2 separate regions of the Homo sapiens genome follow, and region 1 is linked to region 2. The links are contacts of gene promoters, found by promoter capture Hi-C in blood cells and fetal thymus (Javierre and others, 2016). All regions are on one chromosome and are shown on one strand. Each heading gives the region's core, a stretch centred on a gene start or on the middle of the fragment in contact. The rest is flanking DNA. Distances are from core to core; before and after follow the strand shown.

Evidence for each region. The method cuts DNA at HindIII sites, captures the fragments that hold promoters and counts their contacts. A CHiCAGO score of 5 or more calls a contact.
Region 1: a contact is called between a fragment that was not itself captured here and the fragment with the promoter of CD14 in region 2, in 1 of 17 cell types (endothelial precursors). The highest score is 5.7, in endothelial precursors.

The regions. Positions count from the first base shown.
Region 1 is chr5:140,361,434-140,368,510 of GRCh38, reverse strand. It overlaps SLC4A9 (solute carrier family 4 member 9), which reads right to left. Exons shown (of 22, transcript NM_031467.3): 4 at 6,648-6,703; 5 at 6,337-6,494; 6 at 5,979-6,066; 7 at 5,445-5,599; 8 at 4,956-5,072; 9 at 4,609-4,783; 10 at 4,324-4,457; 11 at 3,886-4,148; 12 at 2,933-2,991; 13 at 2,489-2,677; 14 at 2,247-2,360; 15 at 930-1,091; 16 at 613-791. Among named protein-coding and RNA genes, the nearest start is that of SLC4A9, 4.8 kb to the right of the region's middle. RefSeq lists enhancers at 4,891-5,436, 5,307-5,456. The HindIII fragment of the contact is 1,694 bases long and covers 2,822-4,515 here.
Region 2 is chr5:140,631,697-140,638,546 of GRCh38, reverse strand. CD14 (CD14 molecule) reads left to right here and starts at 5,372. Exons shown (of 2, transcript NM_000591.4): 1 at 5,372-5,478; 2 at 5,567-6,815. The coding sequence starts at 5,476. The coding sequence ends at 6,691. It also overlaps a transcript of TMCO6 not described here. RefSeq lists enhancers at 5,728-6,227, 6,440-6,499, 6,228-6,729. The HindIII fragment of the contact is 16,691 bases long and covers 1-6,850 here.

The sequences.
Region 1 (7,077 bases), core at 2,419-4,918, 270 kb after region 2:
CCAGTACAGACCCCGGCAGCAAGAGAAAACTAGAGGAATACCCCAGTAGGTCACCCAGAGGGATGAGCCCTTAGCTTGATGTGAAAAATTGGTGGAGAGGAAGGGGCAGAGCACTTCAAGGTGAGAGTCCCAGACCTCTCCATCAATTCAAGTTCATAGTTGCTCCTTATTTTTATTTTGATGGAAAATTAGCAATGTTTACACTGCCATAAAGACTTACATTTCACAATTTATCAAGTTGATTTCATATACTTTAGATACTTAGACTGTGCTTCCAACAGTTCCAAAATTGCTTTTATGATGGATTCCTTTGTAACTTCTACATTGAGTGAGGATTATTAGGTGGCACCTGACCCTCCACTTCAGCCCTGGCTGCCTCTACCTTTGCATGGATGATAATCCTCTTGAGGCCCCTCCCAGTCCCCATGGCTGAGGGGAGAGAGGGGAAGATCTGACTCACCCATCTCAGAGCCCAGAACTCACTCATTCTGCCACTGCAATGCTTGTGGGACACCAGCTTAGAATTTAAGCTGCCCAAGTAACTCTGCCATGTTCCCCTTTGCCTTACCTTGCTGCCCACCTCTTACTCCACTTCCTAAATACCGCCCTCACCTGATACCCAGGAAGTTGGGGCGCTCCCCGGGGGCACAGGCTCTGCTCTCTCTCCGAAGACTGTCCATGTGAGCCAGGGAGATGACAGTGGCTGAGACATACCAAGGCAGTCCAAGCGCTGATGTGAGTAGCATCAGCACAGCCACACAGAAGAGGTCCAGGTGGAAGCCAGCTCCCTTCTGCAGGTAGTGGTGGGGGCAATGAGGATGAAGCTAGCCCAGGCCCCAGCCCTCTGTCCTCTGAGGTAGGAGAGGAGGAGCGTAGACTCCCCTGGAGCTTCTGTCCCTTGGTCTTGGGCCTTACCCAGCAGGCCTTACCTGCAGTCTGTATTCCATGCGGTTGAGGATGACTGCTGTGATCTGTTGGTCCATGAAGATGAGGATAGACAGCAGCAGGGCAGGCAGGGCAGCTGCCACACTCCACCACCAGGGGTTGGCTCCAAAAGGTGACACCAGCCAGCCACGCCCAGGGAGTGTGGGCTGGAGGAGGGCATTTCATGGACAGGTTGGAGTGGGTCTCCCAAGAGCATCTCACCTGCACATCTCAACCTTGGCATTCTTCCACAACCTGCCCCCACCCCAAGTCACTAGATGCTAGTGGGCTGTGTGTGCATAGCTGGTTCAAAGCATCCCAGTGCCTTAAAAGACAGCAGATGGAAGGAGACCAGCCCTGAGGTCAGGCTGGAACCAGGGGCTCTGGACTTTGGTTCAGGGTCCCTCCCTCCCTGGAACAGAAGGAGGTGGCACATGTGGCCTACACACACTTCTTGATGTACAGAGCCCTGCTCCCTAGAGATCCCTCTCCCCCTATCCCGGGTGGGGCAACTCAGGCTCAGACCTGCCTTGATCTGAGGCAGGGACAGGGCTGGGTGTGTCTGTGTCCACGCTGATTACAAGCATATGTGTTGGGGAGGGGGCCCCAGTTGCTGCCCCAGCTGGATTCCTCCCTGCTCTCCTGTCTTGGGGGAATTTGGAGAGGAGGTCTCCAAATGCAAAGGCAAAGTCTAGAAATCAGTGCTAAGCCTTGTCCTGCACACTGTCATGCCCTGGAAAGGGAGTTCCAGCTTTCCTGGATCAGGGTAGGCAACGTGGGGTGGGAAGAAGAGAGTGAGGAGTAGTGGAGTGGGCAGGGCCACGCCAAGGGTGGGGCAATCCCGTAACAATAATAGCTAACATTTATTGAGGACTTGGTATGTGCCAGGCATGTGGTAAGTGCTTTCCACTGTGATCTTCTGTAAACCTCAAAACAATCTACGGGGTAGGAACTATTGTCATTTTATTATTTCCATTTTATAGACGAAGAAATTGAGGCTTAGAAATGTGCATTAACTTGCCTAATGCATAGCTGGGAAGTGGAAGAACTGGAACTCAAACCCAGGGCTGGCTGATCAGAACCCATTCTCTTAACCCATACCCTGTAATAATAGCTACCGTGTATTCTCTGTACTCACGTGTCTGCTGCAGTACTTCATTTAATCCTCATGACAACCCTGTGAGGCCATTATTATTACTATCTCTAGCTTATTAGTGAAGAAAGAAGCTTAGAGAAGTGTGGGATTTATTCATTTTCCTTCCCCATGGTCTGCTGGCCCTGCTTTCCCCTCTGGTCCCCCAACCCTCTTCCCTGGCTCTCACCTTGAACTCTCTGGGTACCATGAGCTTTGGTGTGGCTAGGCCCAGGAAAGCATCAAGGCCACAGCCGAGCAGGATGGCCAGGACTGAGGAGAAGTCGCTGAGCCCTTTGCGCACCTGGCACACAGTGGACACTCAGTCAGGTCCAGGCCTGCCATCTCTCTTTTTCCACACCACTTCCCATCACAGATAGGACCCAAAGCTTAGAGTCAGGCCTCTCCCACAGAAAGAAAGGTGAAACTCACCACAGAGGGGAAGAAGCGGCTGGTCTTTACACACTTGAGGGCCATAGCAAAGAAGAAAGAAGTAAGGAAGAGGAGAAGGGAGAAGAAGGCAATGTCTGGGACTGTATGACAGCCAGGGCCACGAGGGTGGCCTCCCTGCCGGGTGCACTCAGGTGGCGGCAGCAAGGATGCATTGATCAGGCCTAAGTCCTGTACACAGGAGGGTCAGGAGTGGAGTTATAGGCAATGGAGTAAATGTCCTGCTCTCCTGGACCAACTTCAAGGGAGGAGGGACCCACAGAGACACCAGGGGCCCAGGATGGGAAGTTCCCAGCTGTAGGAAATGGCTAAGCTTTACTCACCTATGAAGGTTTCCTTAACCTATGGGTAGGAAGAGCTAGAAACCACCGACTGCCTTGGTCTCCACCCTTTCCTTCCTAGAACCTCCCAGGAGCAGTCCCTCACCATGCTTACAATGTCGTCTCTGTCTTTTGGCCTTGTCCTTATCCATTGAGACTCATTTCCTGGGAAGCAGAGAAGAATTCAGATGTATGTTCCCTCCCCTGGGAACCTCCTCCAGCCCCATAAAATTCTTATCTGATGGGTCCAGGTGAACCAGAGTTCTTAATTGTGACTCATCTGTCTGCTGACTCTATCACTACCAAGTGTGCGAGAAGGACATTGTCTCATGCCCCCATCCTCTCAAATTCTCTACCCATCTGCATCCCTGGTACCAAGCACTGGACCTGGCCACAGTAGATGCTCAGCAAATGTTGGCTGAATAGAGGAGTATACAAATCTGTGTGTTTCCACCAGGGCTAGAACTGGTCTTGTTCATGCCTAGCACTGATAGGAGAACATATAGAGAGGCCACTTCTTCCCAGTCCTGGGGTTGCCTTCCATGTGGAGGGATATATGCAAGTGTAATACTCCAAGCCTCTCTCCACCTGGCCGGCCACTCTCACCCAGAAGAGCAGTGATATATTTGATTGGTGATTTCAGGAAATGAAGCTGGGCATACCTGGCCCTGCCCCTTTCTCTCCCCTCTCTCGAGTATAAGCTGCCTGTTTGATGTATGTATTTAGCTCTACTCCCCTGGGGTAAGATAGTCTCAAACCAGTGCTTCCACGACTGGTGGGTAAGTCTATTCAATTTTGGCTTCATCATTAGGAAGCCCATTCACCCACAGATATAACCCATGTTCCTTTATCAGTGTTGTCAGAAAGGAAGATGATATCAGGCCTTCTGTTGTCTTATTTCTCAATTGATTCAGAACCAGAGTGTAAATAGTACTGCCAGTTATTGGGTAAGTATGCAGCATTTTGCTGAACTTAACCAGGGGGGATAGTAAGGGTGCAGCCCCTCCCCTTCCCTACATCCTTCTTCACCTGACCAAGGTCCCTGTTTCCCTTACCCACCTCCTGGGCCTGGGTATTGGCAGAGGCACCCGTAGGCAGAGGACCCAGGCTTCTGGATAGGATAGGTATGGGTCAAGTTCAGCATTTTGCCCACAGCATCGTAGATGAAGATGAGGCTGATGAGGGCACAGAAACCTTCCTCAGTGAAGCGGGTGAAGTAGCGCACCAGCACACTGGCCTCTGTGGCCACCAGCACCAGGCAAAAGGTAGCCACCCAGATGCCCACCCATAGGCGGAAGGGCAGGTAGTCCAGGCTGTAATCTCTGTGGGGATGAGAGACAGGAAGGCTGGCTTAGCAGGGCTGTCTGCTTCCCACTAAACCCAGGTCAGGTGTCCCTCAACCCAAACAGATAGCTCCCACTCTCTCCTATTCACCCAGCCAGGAGCAGGCTGACCATGGCACTAGTGAGGGTCCGGTGATGGGGGGAGCTCTCCTACCTGCTGAAAGAGAAGAGCAGGCGCTCAAAGACCAGCACTGGCCCCGTGCTGCTCAGAATGGTGAGGGGCTGGCCTGCCATCAGGCAGAAGGCAGCTCCAGCCACTGCTGTGCCCAGGAAACTTTCCAGCACTCCCTGGAAGCCAACAGGGGCTCAGCACAGGACCCTGAAGTCCTCGGGGTCCTTTGAAGCTTTGGGAGAGCCTCCTTAACTTACCCATAGTCCCAGGGGAAGGGATGGACTAGGGGACACCAACGCTTGTGCCTGCCCCCTGGGCCCTACCCACCTGGGCACCATCAGTGGCATCTCCCAGCAGACCCCCAAAAGTGATGGCATTAGTGACAGTGGCCAGGTAAATGTAGAGTACGGCCGAGAAGCACTGGAGATGCAGGGCGTCCAAGAAATCGCTGGGGTACCACGGGACCTTCCTGCGCACGTCCTGGATAAGGCCCCCAAACAGCCTCCCGCCCGAGGGTCGTCAGTGATCCAGGTTTTCACACTCCACACCCGCATCCCCGCTACTTTCCCTGTGACCGGGTGAGCCCCTCCCACAGTGAGCACACACCTCAGTTTCCCTGTGACTCCTCCCCTCCCCCAGGTCACCTACCCTTGTTTCCTCCCAGCTCGCCTCACCTGCCGGTCCGCTGCAACTCCGGGCTGTGTGCGTGTGGCCCATGGCGGTGCCTGTCCTCAGCCGAGGTCAGGCGCGGGACGGCGGGACCTCTGATCTCCCGCTGTTGCGAGGGAAGCCTGAGGAGGAGGGGAACCCCAGGTTGGCTGAGGATCTCCAACCAGTCTGCGACTCGGTCCAGAGCTCGTGGCGCCCTGCCCCCTAGCGGCTGCTCTTGTCTCTGCCGGCGAGGGAACCATGGCGACACCTGGGCCTCTAGAAGGTCCAGGTCATATTGCGACCTGTGAAAGCCAGGCTCGGGCAGGGAAGGTCTTTGTTCAGGTCTCTTAGCGAGAGAGTAGTCCAGCAGAACTCAGAGTTAGGTCTGCCTGACTCCAAATCCAAAGATAGGTCCCTATCTCTTTCCTGGGACACCACCCCTCCTCAACAATGGAATTAGACCCAGGGCCTATATGGGCAGGAATCTGTATGGGATGATGGCTCCCAGGTACCTTTTGTGCTGAGATGGCAGACATTTGGGCGGGGGAATCCGGGCTGTTGGGTCCCACCGACCTGGGGGAAGCACTGTCACCTCCTCTAGGAATGCATCCAGGGCTGCCAGAAGGTCATGAAGGTTGCTGGCCCGACGAACTGACCACTGGAATTGCTGGGAATGGGGGCACAGAATGGGTGGTAAGTGCAAACCTGGTCTCTTACATGCATTTTCATAGTCTCAAAACTAGACAGACACAAGTCACAGAGGCAGACAAGTCATTCACACATTCCTTTATGCATGCATTAATTCATTCATTCAGTGGGTATCTATTGAGTGCCTACAGTGTGCCAGCACTCATCCAGTAATGGGGCTGCACTAGGAGACGAGGAAACTTCAGTCTCAGTGCTCACTGTGCCTCATTGCTGTATTTAGGGACACATACAGAGTCCACACACACACACTCACATGAGCCCATGCATGTATGCATGTGTGCACACACACACAGGCATGCACGCGTGCGCGCGCACACACACACACCTGCTCAGCTCACCGGGTCACTGAGGAGGACAGCTGCTGCCCGTCCCATCTCATGGTAGCCCTTTCCCAGCATACAGGGGCCCAGGAGAAGGCAGAAAAACCTGAGGAAGGAACCAGGCCCCAGAGATTCACAGGCTGCTTTCCCACAGGGCAGCCCTGGCCTCTGATGCTCAGCTCTGACCTATCAGCTCCCATAAACACACTCATTTGCACACCTACCATGCAGCCCTGACCACTACTCTCTCCCCAGACCCCTGAGCACCATCCTCCCCACAGCCTCAGAGAATCAGACTGAGACCCTCCTTCCCCTCCTCAGTAAAGACCCTTCTAGGTTCTGGGATCCCTGACTCCCACTCACTCAGTAGCCTCACCTGCTTGGGAGGGACACCTCAGTAAGGGACCCCAGTACCACAGGGTTCCGCAGTCGAACAAAGGCTCCCAGTGGCTGTGCCAGGAAGCCCAGCTCCCCTGCCAGCACAGTCCCTGCCTCAGCTCCTGGAGGTAGCTTCTGTCTCAGGGGGTTCTGACACTGGATGGGGGTTCAAGGAGACACAGAATATGAAAGGTTATTTGGGGAGGATAAGATCTCAAATGATGAGAAATCCAGTGGAGAGTAGACTTTTGTTAATTTCTAACCCCTCTCCCAGCCACTGGAAAGGGACCCCAAGGAAGGGCCACAAACCTGTTCCCTCAGGGGGGCTTCCTCATTGTCAGAAGCCTTTCTTGGATGAGTAGAGCCTACAAAACAGGATTATGCAGTGATTAAGACCACAGGCTTTGGGGGTGGATCCACCAGGATTCCCTAATCACTTTTGCCACTGACAAGCTGTAAGAATTAGAGTATACCCTTCTCCACTCTGAGCCACAGTTTTCTCACCACTAAAATGGGGATAATTGTGGTACTATTTACAGGGTGGTTGTGAAGATCAAATGAGATACTGTGAAGATCAAATGGTAGGCCTAGTGCCTACCAAGTACATGTCTTCACAGAACTCTCTTACGATTCTAGCCCCCTGAATCTTCTCCCCACAACATTACCACCAGTTTCCTCTTGCTCATGAGTCCTGGGTTGGAGCCTGAACTAAGCCTGGGCTACTTCTAGCCCTGGAAGG
Region 2 (6,850 bases), core at 4,123-6,622:
ATCTGGGATATGATGAGGTTTCTCTTCAAATAATTAGATCAATCTTTTATTCTTTAATTCATAGTACTCCCCCCCACACACACTTTTGTTTTCCTTTTTCTCCTTTTTGCCTTCGTTAGATGCCGAGGCACGCCACAGTACAAGACGTTATCAGTACCAGACGTTATCAGTACCAGCTCACATTCCTTTCATTATTTGGAAAGAGGACTAACTTTCTAGTTCATTACAGGCACCCCTTCCCCTTTCCTCTCCACTTTCTTTTACGTGCCCACATTACCTAAAAAAATCAAATGTTTAGCCAACCGGGATTAGTTCAGATTGTATGACCCGACCCCGGCCAATGGGGAAAGGGTACAGGGGCAGGACTTGCGTCAGGAATAAAGGCTCTCGTGCCCCTTTGTTCAGGTGTGCTCTCATGGCGACTGGCCAAGCAGACACCCCTCTGAGCAGAAGTAAAATTGCTTTGCTAATAATCCTTTGTTCGAGTGTTCAATTTCCCTTAGGATTTTGAGCGTTATTCCTAAGAGAAAGAAAAGAAAGAAAGGAAGGAAGAAAGAAAGAAAGAAAGAAAGGGAGAAAAGAAAGAAAGAAAAGAAAAGAGGAAAGGAGGAAGGGAAGAGAGGGGAGGGGGAAAGAGAGAAAGACATTGGTTTGTGGGACAACAGAAAGGCGGGACAACTCGAAGTGGGGCGGTGGGGGGCTTCCAGCTTATAGGTAGATTTTAAATTTTTCTGGTTGACAATTGGTTGAGTTTCTCTAAAGACCTGAAATCAATAGAAAGGAATGTCTGGGTTAAGATAAAGGATTGTGGAGACCCAAGTTCTTATTTGCAGAGGAAACCTTCAAATCCTAGGCTTCAGAGAGAATGGGTTGTAAAATGTTTCTTATCAAACTTAAAGTCTGTGTTGATGTTAACGGTAGAGAGGTATAATGAGGCACGTTCAACCCCTACTTCCCATCATGGCCTGAAACGGTCACTCGGGTTTAATTTTGAAAGAGCCCTGGCTGAGGAGGAAGTCCATTCAGATGGTTGTGGGGGGCGGCCTTAGAATTTTATTTTTGCTTTACAGAATGTTCACCACAATGACCATTATTCTCATTTTATATGTGATGAAAATGAGAAAGATATCATTATTTCACTTCTCTGCATAAAACTGAATTCCCATAATTTTTAGGATAAAATCTTTCACCAAATGTGGAGTGCCACTAGTCTACTAGGCACTGAGGAAACACTAGTGAATAAAAAACCGTGTTCCTCACATTCAAAATTGGAATTGTGGCCGACTTAGCCCTACATGGTCTAACCCCTGCATACCTCTCCAATCTGGACTCACCTCTTCTGGGACCTTCTCTTTGTCAACAAGCCCTGTTCTTTTTCTCCTCCACCCTACTCCCACTCTTGGGGGAGGCTCTCGCACAAGCTGTTTTCTCTGCCTGCATCCTTCCCTTTTCTTTCTACCAGCATCCTTCCCTCAACACCATTCTCAACATGTCAAGTCCAGTGTCACCTACTCAGAACCATTGTACCAATGACCCAGCTTCTTCACAACCCTTTTCACAGCTATCATTAAGTTATAGTGTAATTATTTGATGTTGTCTCCTCCCAGACCCCCTTGGCAGCTCCAGAAGATTAGGGTCCCGGTGGCACCTAAGAATTTTTACAGGAAACCTCTAATTTTTAAAAAGCCATATAACTTAGGCAAAGGTTCAATTAAGTACAAATCTAGGAAAAAGGTTATTCTTAAAACCAATTTCTTTCCCTTGAACTTAATTCTACCCCTTGGAGTTAATCAATGAAGTCTGCAATCTCTTCCACAAAACAGCATGTTAAAATATCTACAGGCCATCATTCCATCCTCCATATCTTCTCTCCCAGTATCCATCCAGCCCCTGGAGAGCCATTTACTGAGTACCTGCTGTGCACCATGCTCTGGCCAGGGATAGGGCCTGGATCTTGAGCCCTTCCTCATGCAACTGTCTGGCTTCTTTTTTTAATTTTTTAATTAAAAAAAATTTATTTTCTTATTTCCCCAAGAAAAACTTTTTTATTTTTATTTTATTTATTTATTTTTTTTTTTGAGCCAGGGTCTTGCTCGGTTGCCCACGCTGCAGTGCAGTAGTGCAATCATGGCTTATCACAGCCTGGAACTCAGCCTTAAATGATCCTTTCAGCTTGGCCTCCCAAAGTGCTAGAATTACTGGCATGAGCCACTGCACCTAACCCAGGCTAGCTTCTAAGACCCACACTTGGCCCAGCAAGGTGGCTCATGCCTATAATCCCAGCACTTTGGGAGATGGAGGCAGGTGGATCACCTGAGGTCAGGAGTTCGAGACCAGCATGACCAACATGGTGAAACCCCGTCTCTACTAAAAATGCAAAATTAACCAGGTGTGGTGGCACGTGCTTGTAATCCCAGCTACTCAGGAGACTGAGGCAGGAGACTCGCTTGAACCCAGGAGGTGGAGGTTGCGATGAGCCAAGATTGCATCATTGCACTCCAGCCTGGGCAACAAGAGTGAAACTCCATCTAAAACAACAACAATAACAACAACAACAAAACCCACATGTGCTCCAGGTGGGGAAGATGAAAAAAGTTCCCAGCCAAAAGCTATATTCTGCCCAGTGTCTGCTCAGACAGCTACAGCTGCCCAAATTGCCTTTCTGTATCTACCTGTCTAGCAACACTGTTAACCCTGTAAGAACCAGCCCCATGTCCTGTCTTGTACAGGGCTGGCTGTTCCTTTCTCCAGACCATGTTCCTCCCCTCCACCCCTCTCCCCCAACAACACAAGCCTTTGGTTTCTCTTCTTTTAAGAGCCCTCTGCACTATGGACGGAAGTTCTGGGTTCATGTTTGCTCTACCCACCTCCTGGAGCACTTCAGGGACTTGTCTTTGTCATGTCTGTGTCCCAGGGCTTTCTACCAACCCTAGTACTCGGTAGACAAATGATAGACATTTGTTGAATCAAGCTGTGAGTTGGAGATCTTTGCAGAACCATCACTGCCCCTCTTAACTTGGAACTCCCCACCCAGAGTGCCTCCCCTAAGATGATGAGGTGTCAGACTTCAGTGGCCTGAGTTCTCTGAAAGCAGAGACTCTGAGAAAGAAGACTAGTCATCAAGACCACACTAAAAAGATGTGTTTCTGTGCCAAAGACTTTACTCACAAACAGGTAATACTATCATCTCCATTTTACAGAAGGGAGGCCCAAGTCTCATAACCTCAGTCGTAAAGCTGGGATTCCAAGACTGGCTATCTGACTTTGAGTCAGATATAATCATATCTTGGTCCTCAGGGATATCACAGAGGCCTGGCATGGCACCAGGGCATGGCCCAGTGCATTGGGGTATGCCCAACAGGACCCGCAGGGGGCAGTGATGAGCCTTCTTGTTTGGATTGGGGACAAATCTGCAGCTACTTCTTTCTCAATTAAAGAGGAAGTGGGAATTTAAAAAAGACTTTCTGCCGGGCACGGTGGCTCATGCCTGTAATCCCAGCACTTTGGGAGGCCGAGGCAGGTGAATCACCTGAGGTCGGGAGTTCGAGACCAGCCTGACCAACATGGAGAAACCCCATCTCTACTAAAAATACAAAATTAGCCGGGTGTAGTGGCACATGCCTGTAATCCCAGCCGCTCGGGAAGCTGAGGCAGGAGAATTGCTGGAACCTGGGAGGCGGAGATTGCAGTGAGCTGAGATCGCGCCCAGCCTGGGCAACAAGAACAAAACTCCGTCTCAAATAAATAAATAAAAGTAAAAAAGACTTTCAGGCCGGGTGTGGTGGCTCTCGCCTGTAATCCCAGCACTTTGAGAGGCCAAGGCGGGCGGATCACCTGAGGTCAGGAGTGCCTGGTCAACATAGTGAAACTCTGTCTCTACTAAAACTACAAAAATTAGCCGGGCATGGTGGTGGGCTCCTGTAATCCCAGCTACTCAGGAATCTGAGGCAAGAGAATTGCTTGAACTTGGGAGGCGGAGGTTGCAGTGAGCCAAGATCACGCCACTGCACTCCAGCCTGGGCAACAGAGCCAAACTCAGTCTCAAAAAAAAAAAAAAAAAAAAAGACTTTCATATAGTTCTTTCCCCAGAGGTCTAGGGATGTGGACCTGTGAGGGCTGTTGTAAATGCGTAGCTCCTTATTCTCTGGGACATTTGTTGTTTTTTTGTTTTGTTTTGTTTGCTGTTTTTTTCATTTTGTTTTGTTTTCTGTTTTTGTCTGTTTTTTGCGAAACTGGTGAGTTACTAATTAATCCTCATTCAACATAGTCCCATCCCTTCCTTCCTAGGGCACAGAGATTGTACTGAGGGGAGGGCAGGAGAGAGCAACGTGCAAGTGGGAAAACTGATTCAAAATACCTTGCTTCACAATTTCAGGACAGAAAATGGATAGTGTAAGTGACCCAGAGACTTGGCCAATGTGTCTCTGTTAAATACATCCACTTTTAAGAAAGTTAGTACTGCCAGGCACAGTGGCTCACGCCTGTAATCCCAGCACTTTGGGAGGCCGAGGCGGGTGGATCACAAGGTCAGGAGTTCAAGACCAGCCTGGCCAAGATGATGAAAACCTGTCTCTACTAAAAAATACAAAAATTAGCTGGGTGTGGTGGTGGGCACTTGTAATCCCAGCTACTCGGGAGGCTGAGGCAGAGAATTGCTTGAACCCAGGAGGCGGAGGTTGCAGTGAGCCGAGATCATGGCACTCTACTCCAGCCTGAGCAACAGAGCAAGACTCTATCTCAAAAAAAAAAAAAAAAAAGAAAGAAAGTTATTACTTAATCAAAGGAGCAAGGAAAAAAAAAGGAAGGGGGAATTTTTCTTTAGACCAACTTCCTTTTCTTGAACCTAATTCTACCCCCCTTGGTGCCAACAGATGAGGTTCACAATCTCTTCCACAAAACATGCAGTTAAATATCTGAGGATATTCAGGGACTTGGATTTGGTGGCAGGAGATCAACATAAACCAAGACAAGGAAGAAGTCAAAGAAATGAATCAAGTAGATTCTCTGGGATATAAGGTAGGGGGATTGGGGGGTTGGATAGTGCAGAGTATGGTACTGGCCTAAGGCACTGAGGATCATCCTTTTCCCACACCCACCAGAGAAGGCTTAGGCTCCCGAGTCAACAGGGCATTCACCGCCTGGGGCGCCTGAGTCATCAGGACACTGCCAGGAGACACAGAACCCTAGATGCCCTGCAGAATCCTTCCTGTTACGGTCCCCCTCCCTGAAACATCCTTCATTGCAATATTTCCAGGAAAGGAAGGGGGCTGGCTCGGAGGAAGAGAGGTGGGGAGGTGATCAGGGTTCACAGAGGAGGGAACTGAATGACATCCCAGGATTACATAAACTGTCAGAGGCAGCCGAAGAGTTCACAAGTGTGAAGCCTGGAAGCCGGCGGGTGCCGCTGTGTAGGAAAGAAGCTAAAGCACTTCCAGAGCCTGTCCGGAGCTCAGAGGTTCGGAAGACTTATCGACCATGGTGAGTGTAGGGTCTTGGGGTCGAACGCGTGCCACTCGGGAGCCACAGGGGTTGGATGGGGCCTCCTAGACCTCTGCTCTCTCCCCAGGAGCGCGCGTCCTGCTTGTTGCTGCTGCTGCTGCCGCTGGTGCACGTCTCTGCGACCACGCCAGAACCTTGTGAGCTGGACGATGAAGATTTCCGCTGCGTCTGCAACTTCTCCGAACCTCAGCCCGACTGGTCCGAAGCCTTCCAGTGTGTGTCTGCAGTAGAGGTGGAGATCCATGCCGGCGGTCTCAACCTAGAGCCGTTTCTAAAGCGCGTCGATGCGGACGCCGACCCGCGGCAGTATGCTGACACGGTCAAGGCTCTCCGCGTGCGGCGGCTCACAGTGGGAGCCGCACAGGTTCCTGCTCAGCTACTGGTAGGCGCCCTGCGTGTGCTAGCGTACTCCCGCCTCAAGGAACTGACGCTCGAGGACCTAAAGATAACCGGCACCATGCCTCCGCTGCCTCTGGAAGCCACAGGACTTGCACTTTCCAGCTTGCGCCTACGCAACGTGTCGTGGGCGACAGGGCGTTCTTGGCTCGCCGAGCTGCAGCAGTGGCTCAAGCCAGGCCTCAAGGTACTGAGCATTGCCCAAGCACACTCGCCTGCCTTTTCCTGCGAACAGGTTCGCGCCTTCCCGGCCCTTACCAGCCTAGACCTGTCTGACAATCCTGGACTGGGCGAACGCGGACTGATGGCGGCTCTCTGTCCCCACAAGTTCCCGGCCATCCAGAATCTAGCGCTGCGCAACACAGGAATGGAGACGCCCACAGGCGTGTGCGCCGCACTGGCGGCGGCAGGTGTGCAGCCCCACAGCCTAGACCTCAGCCACAACTCGCTGCGCGCCACCGTAAACCCTAGCGCTCCGAGATGCATGTGGTCCAGCGCCCTGAACTCCCTCAATCTGTCGTTCGCTGGGCTGGAACAGGTGCCTAAAGGACTGCCAGCCAAGCTCAGAGTGCTCGATCTCAGCTGCAACAGACTGAACAGGGCGCCGCAGCCTGACGAGCTGCCCGAGGTGGATAACCTGACACTGGACGGGAATCCCTTCCTGGTCCCTGGAACTGCCCTCCCCCACGAGGGCTCAATGAACTCCGGCGTGGTCCCAGCCTGTGCACGTTCGACCCTGTCGGTGGGGGTGTCGGGAACCCTGGTGCTGCTCCAAGGGGCCCGGGGCTTTGCCTAAGATCCAAGACAGAATAATGAATGGACTCAAACTGCCTTGGCTTCAGGGGAGTCCCGTCAGGACGTTGAGGACTTTTCGACCAATTCAACCCTTTGCCCCACCTTTATTAAAATCTTAAACAACGGGTCCGTGTCATTCATTTAACAGACCTTTATTGGA